2 separate regions of the Homo sapiens genome follow, and region 1 is linked to region 2. Evidence: promoter capture Hi-C in human tissues and cell types (Jung and others, 2019). All regions are on one chromosome and are shown on one strand. The core of a region is centred on a gene start or on the middle of the fragment in contact, and the rest is flanking DNA. Distances in the headings are between cores, read along the strand shown.

Evidence for each region. The method cuts DNA at HindIII sites, captures the fragments that hold promoters and counts their contacts. A contact is called where the count stands out against the background at its distance.
Region 1: a fragment that was not itself captured here is called in contact with the fragment with the promoter of SLC19A3 in region 2 in 5 of the 25 tissues and cell types used here (H1 embryonic stem cells, bladder, hippocampus and 2 more).

Annotation. Positions count from the first base shown.
Region 1 is chr2:227,670,917-227,673,616 of GRCh38, forward strand. No RefSeq gene overlaps it. Among named protein-coding and RNA genes, the nearest start is that of SCYGR5, 5.5 kb to the left of the region's middle. The HindIII fragment of the contact is 5,458 bases long and covers 1-2,700 here.
Region 2 is chr2:227,716,767-227,719,466 of GRCh38, forward strand. SLC19A3 (solute carrier family 19 member 3) reads right to left here and starts at 1,262. Exons shown (of 6, transcript NM_025243.4): 1 at 1,177-1,262. RefSeq lists an enhancer at 793-1,679. The HindIII fragment of the contact is 9,813 bases long and covers 1-2,700 here.

The DNA.
Region 1 (2,700 bases), core at 182-2,681, 46 kb before region 2:
TCATTACATCTGGGAGAACCAAAACCTAGGGTGGCTGCAGGTTTATCTGATATTCATGTTTGCTACATTTTAGAAATTGGAGAAAGACTGATTTGAATCACAGTCATCATAAGAGCATCTTTCATTTGGTCTTGTGGTCCTCTAAGAAACTCTAGAGTTTTTAACATGAACAATACAGAGAGACACAAGACTTCCCTTGAGAGCATTCAAATGAAGACAAGAATCATGATTTTTAATATTTGTGAATATGACTTACTACAAAATGACAACACTTCAAAGTTTAACTTTCATCCCACAGTTTTCTTACCTAGACAGGCATCCAAAAATCTCACAAAAATACTTAATGAACATGAGTCAGTCCGTTTAAAAAAAAATACTTACCACATTTATACCATAGTCAGCAATCATAAGGCTGTAGTCATTTACATAATCACAAATGTCTCAATTCTTATGTTGTTTTTTCTATCTTTCACAATAGGAAAATTTACAAAAGAAGAGATCATTGTTCTCCCAAGGCCCTCAAGGGTGAAAGAGAATTTGATGCCTGAAGAATAGCAGTGTTTTTTTAAATTCTCTTTTTTAAATTTTTCATCTTCAAGTATCCCCAGTCTAACCAAAGGCACCAGATCATGACTATATGATTGGGTCCTGTAGTGTCAGACTGAGGATACTTTTCCAGATTTGTTGCTTTATTACTAGTCAGCTTGATCATTAATCTAAGAACACATGATCTAACAGAAAAGTGGCACTTCATTGCTTTAATGTGCTTTCCAAGTGGCCTAAGGGCCCCTTAATTCTTCAGCTCACTTACCTAACTCAGACTTGACTTTATCTTCTCTTTGTGGGTACAAGTGTTCTTTTAGACTTTGTAAACTTTCATGGAATTTAGCATTTCTTGTAATCTTTGCATTTAGTTTTTTTTTTTTTTGACGTCCCTGAGAACATGTTGCAATTTGTTTTTCAAAGAAATAGTTGCGCAGGAATTACTAAAGCAGACGAGAAAAACTGGGTGTGACAGTAAACAGGAAAGATATATCAAAACTGGAGACAGTATCACTGCTTACTGATCATAAGCATCAGTATAAGTTTCCTATTCTTATATTCAGACGGCATTATGTTATCTAGCATGTGGTATTTAATACAATACCATAAATATCTTATAAAATGCTGTTCTTGGAACTGAAATTACTAAGATAAAATAATACTGTATAATTAGGGGCTATAACTAAATGGACAATGATGCATATGTAACTGTAACCTGAATGAATATTAAATAACTAACGAAGCTTGGCCACTTCTGAGGGTAGCAGCTGGTAAGATTCCCAAAGCCCACTCCCCCAGAAGATCCCTGTGGACTTTCACATGGCCCACTGTGAAGATATAGCCGTGTCCCCTGAAAGGAAGGAATAACCATATCTATATCTTGGTAGCCAAAGTGTGAAATGGCTTTATCCATTGTTGTCAATACCCATACTACAACAAAATACAGATTTTTTTTGCTTGAATTTTGATTTGATGAAAAGCAACCTTGTGTCAGAGACAAGTCTGACAGAAAAAAAAAAAGAAAAAAAGAAAAGAAAAGAAAGAAAAGCAACTTGATTCAGCTCTACCAGATGTTAATAACCTTTTCCTTTACTTATTGTTTTCTTCTCCTTTTCCTTAATTCATTGGCGTGAGGCAGCAGCCAAGGCCTGCAATGGTTCTGTCTTCTCCTGGATCTTCCTTTGGCTTCTGTGACCTTTTGGTTAGCTACATACCTGGTTAGCTCCATAACAAAGGGTTCCTTTTCCTGCAGGACACCCATGCCACCAAGGTCAGGGGCAACAAGAACTGACAAGGGGGGCTGTCTGTCCTCCTGGGCCCCAGCTCATAACGGTGAGCCCCAGCTAGTTCTTCCTCTCCTCCCCTTATATCCATTTTTCTGCCCTCACTTCTTGATCTGCGCACTTCAAGCTCCAGCAGAAGGACACAGACTGGCAGAGAACACGTAGCCAGGTCCTCAATGGCCTAGGTTCCTGAGGAAGCCTGAGTCTATGATACAGCAGTCACACCTTACTTTGCTTATTGGTCCTCAGCCCAATTCCTTGTAGGTCTGTTTTAATTTACTGGAAGTGCTAGAACCACATATCTACATATCTATTCTCTAAATTGATTTAATAAAGACATTTTCTATAATTAGGGCTATTTTTTTAATGTGATGAGAATGTATTTGTGTTTAAAATAAAAACTGATTTTCTGGGCACTGTGGCTTACATCTATAATCCCAGTGCTTTGGGAGACAGAGGTGAGAGATGATGTGAGGCCAGGAGTTCAAGACCAACGTGGGCAATAACAAGACTCTGTTTCCAAAAATAAAAATAAGGCTGGGCGCGGTGGCTCATGTCTGTAATCCCAGCACTTTGGGAGGCTGAGGTGGACAGATCACTTGAGGTCAGGAGTTCAAGATCGACCTGGCCAACATGGTGAAATCCCGTCTCTACTAAAAATAGAAAAATTAGACCGCTATGGTGGCGTGTGCCTGTAATCCCAGCTACTTGGGAGGCTGAGGCACAAGAACCACTTGAACCTGAGAGGTGGAGGCTGCAGTGAGCCGAGACTGTGCCACTGCACTCCACCCTGGGTGACACAGTGAGACTCTGTCTCAATAAATAAATAAATAAATAAATAAATAAATAATAAAATAAAATGAAATAAACTACC
Region 2 (2,700 bases), core at 12-2,511:
ATTTACCATTACACAACCTTAAAAGAGTGTTGTTGGTCTATTAGCAATAATGACTGAAGGAAATTGGTATTTTTGTCCATTTCAGCTACTACTAGGATAATCTTATAAGATATTTGGGAAGTTATGTTTTGGTCTATTTAATATATGTGCCTCGATGAAAAAAACACCTTTTGCCACAGGAGACACCAATGTTTCAATATTGATAGGAGCAAAACACATGAGAGTGCTTTTTTTTTTTTTTTTTTTTTTTTTTTGAGGCAGAATCTTGCTGGGTCGCCCAGGCTGGAGTGCAGTGGTGCAATCTTGGCTCACTGCAACCTTCGCCTCCCAAGTTCAAGCCATTCTTCAGCCTCAGCCTCCAGTGTAGCTGGGATTACAGGCACCCGCCACCATGCCCGGCTAATTTTTGCCTTTTTAGTAGAGACGGGGTTTCATCCCAGGGCCAAGCTGGTCTCGAATTCCTGACCTCAAGCAATCCGCCCCGCTCAGCCTCCCAAAGTGCTGGGATTACAGGCGTGAGCCACTGCGCCTGGCCTGAGAGTACTTTTAGAAAACATTATTCCTTTACCTTTTTCAAACTTGAAGCACTCCGAAAGTCCCAACCTTTTGCACATTTGCGGCAGCGACATTGATTTGGTAAACAGCTGTCACACTATTTATTATTTGATGACTTAGGTATCCTTTCCAGCAGTGTTTTTGTAAGGTGTAGTTGCGTTTTCTTTTAGTTTCAATTAACTAAATTTCAAGTGGTTCCCAAAAAAGCCCCTGCTCTCTTAAATTCAAACTCACCTTCCTTTTTCCCACTAGGAAGGACCTTTTCTCCATCCTTGGATTGGAATTTGGAATTCTATGCTAAAATGCCTTTTCAGTTAAAATCTGTGAACGTGGGATGTAACCATAGGAGGTGCTGGCACTTTACGGGAATCATGATTTTATTTAATCTGCGCTTCCAGAAGGCTGCAAATGGGAATTCCAGACAAACCCACTTGGGTGAATCCCAGCACGCGGGCTGCGGCGTAGGGGGAGAGCTCCTCACGCGGCTCAGAGTGTAGCCCAGGCCCGCAGAGCCAGGAACCCGCCCCCAGCTCTCCAAACCCGGGAAGAGAGAGGCGACACTGCTAAGACCGAGGGATGACGGTGCTTCTTCAATTAATTCGCCCCCCGAGATATTCTTACCTACAGAAGGGAGTGTCTGTTCACCAAATCGCTCACTTGCCGCACGACCACGCACCCGCGGCTGTCGGATGGATCCAGGCGCTCTTGGTGGGAAGGGGGCGGAGCCTGCCTGGCCCGGAGCCCGGGGCCACGCCCCCACGCTTTGCATATGCGAATCCGGGCGTCCAGACCTTTCATCCCAGTGTGGAAGCCCAGATTTTCCTGGCCCAGGGCCGGTTTTCTGGGCAGAAACAGTCAACTCTGCTGAAAGGAACAACTTAAGTAATACACTGACATTCAGCATAATGAAGCAAGAGGGCCTGAATCCAACAGCGATCGTTTGCTTTATTTACAAATATGTCCTTTCTTATGAATCCATTTATTTCTCTCCAAAAGCTTAGGAGAGAGGGCTGGCTGGCTGTCACCCCCACTCTACACATGAAGAAAGTGAGGCGGAAGGAAGTAGGCCTAGTAAATAGAGAAGCCTGGGTTTTAGTTGGGGCTCCTGGCTCCAGAGCCAGTGGTTATAATCACTCTGCACTTTTTTTTTTTAAAGGAGGTAGAGTGGGATGGTTTCCTGGCACTTTGAAAATCTGATACAAACAATTTTTTCTTTTCTTCTTCTTTTTCTTTTCTTTTCTCTTTTCTTTCTTTCTTTTTTTTTTTTTTGAGACAGAGTCTCCCTCTGTCGCCCAGGATGGAGTGCAGTGGCGCGATCTCGGCTCACTACAACCCTCCGCCTCCCGGGTTCAAGCGATTCTCCTGCCTCAGCCTCCAAAAATTAACGCCCAGTTAATTTTTGTGTTTTTAGTAGAGACGGGGTTTGGTTTCACCATATTGGCCAGGCTCATCTCGAACTCCTGGCCTCGTGATCCGCCTGCCTCGGCCTCTCAAAGTGCTGAGATTACAGGCGTGAGCCACCGCGCCTGGTCTTTTTTCTTTCTTTCTTTCTTTCTTTTTTTTTTTGAGATGGAGCCTCGCTGTTGTTGGCCCCGGGCTGGAGTGCAATGGCACGATCTTGGCTCACTGCAACCTCCACCTCCCGGGTTCCAGCAATTCTTCTGCCTCAGCCTCCCTAGTAGCTGGGATTACAGGCGCCCGTCACCACACCCAGCTAATTTTTGTATTTTTAGTAGAGATGGGGTTTCACCATGTTGTCCAGGCTGGTCTCAAACTCCTGACCTCAGGTGATCCACCCGCCTCGGCCTCCCAAAGTGCTAGGATTACAGGTGTGAGCCACAGCACCCGGCCACCTGGCCTCTTTTCTTTTCTTTTCTCTTTCTTTCTTTCTTTTTTTTTTTTTTTTGACAAAGTCTCACTTTATCTCCCAGGCTGGAGTGCAGTGGTGCAACCCCAGCTCACTGCAACCTCAATCTCCCAGGCACACTGATCCTCCTGCCTCAGCCTCCCAAGTAGCTGGGCTTGCAGGTGGGTGCCACCACGTCACATTAATTTTTTTGTTTTTTTTTTTTGGTAGAGACAGAGTCTCACTATCTTGCCCAGGCTGGTCTTGAACTCCTGGGCTCAAAGGATCCTCCTGCCTTG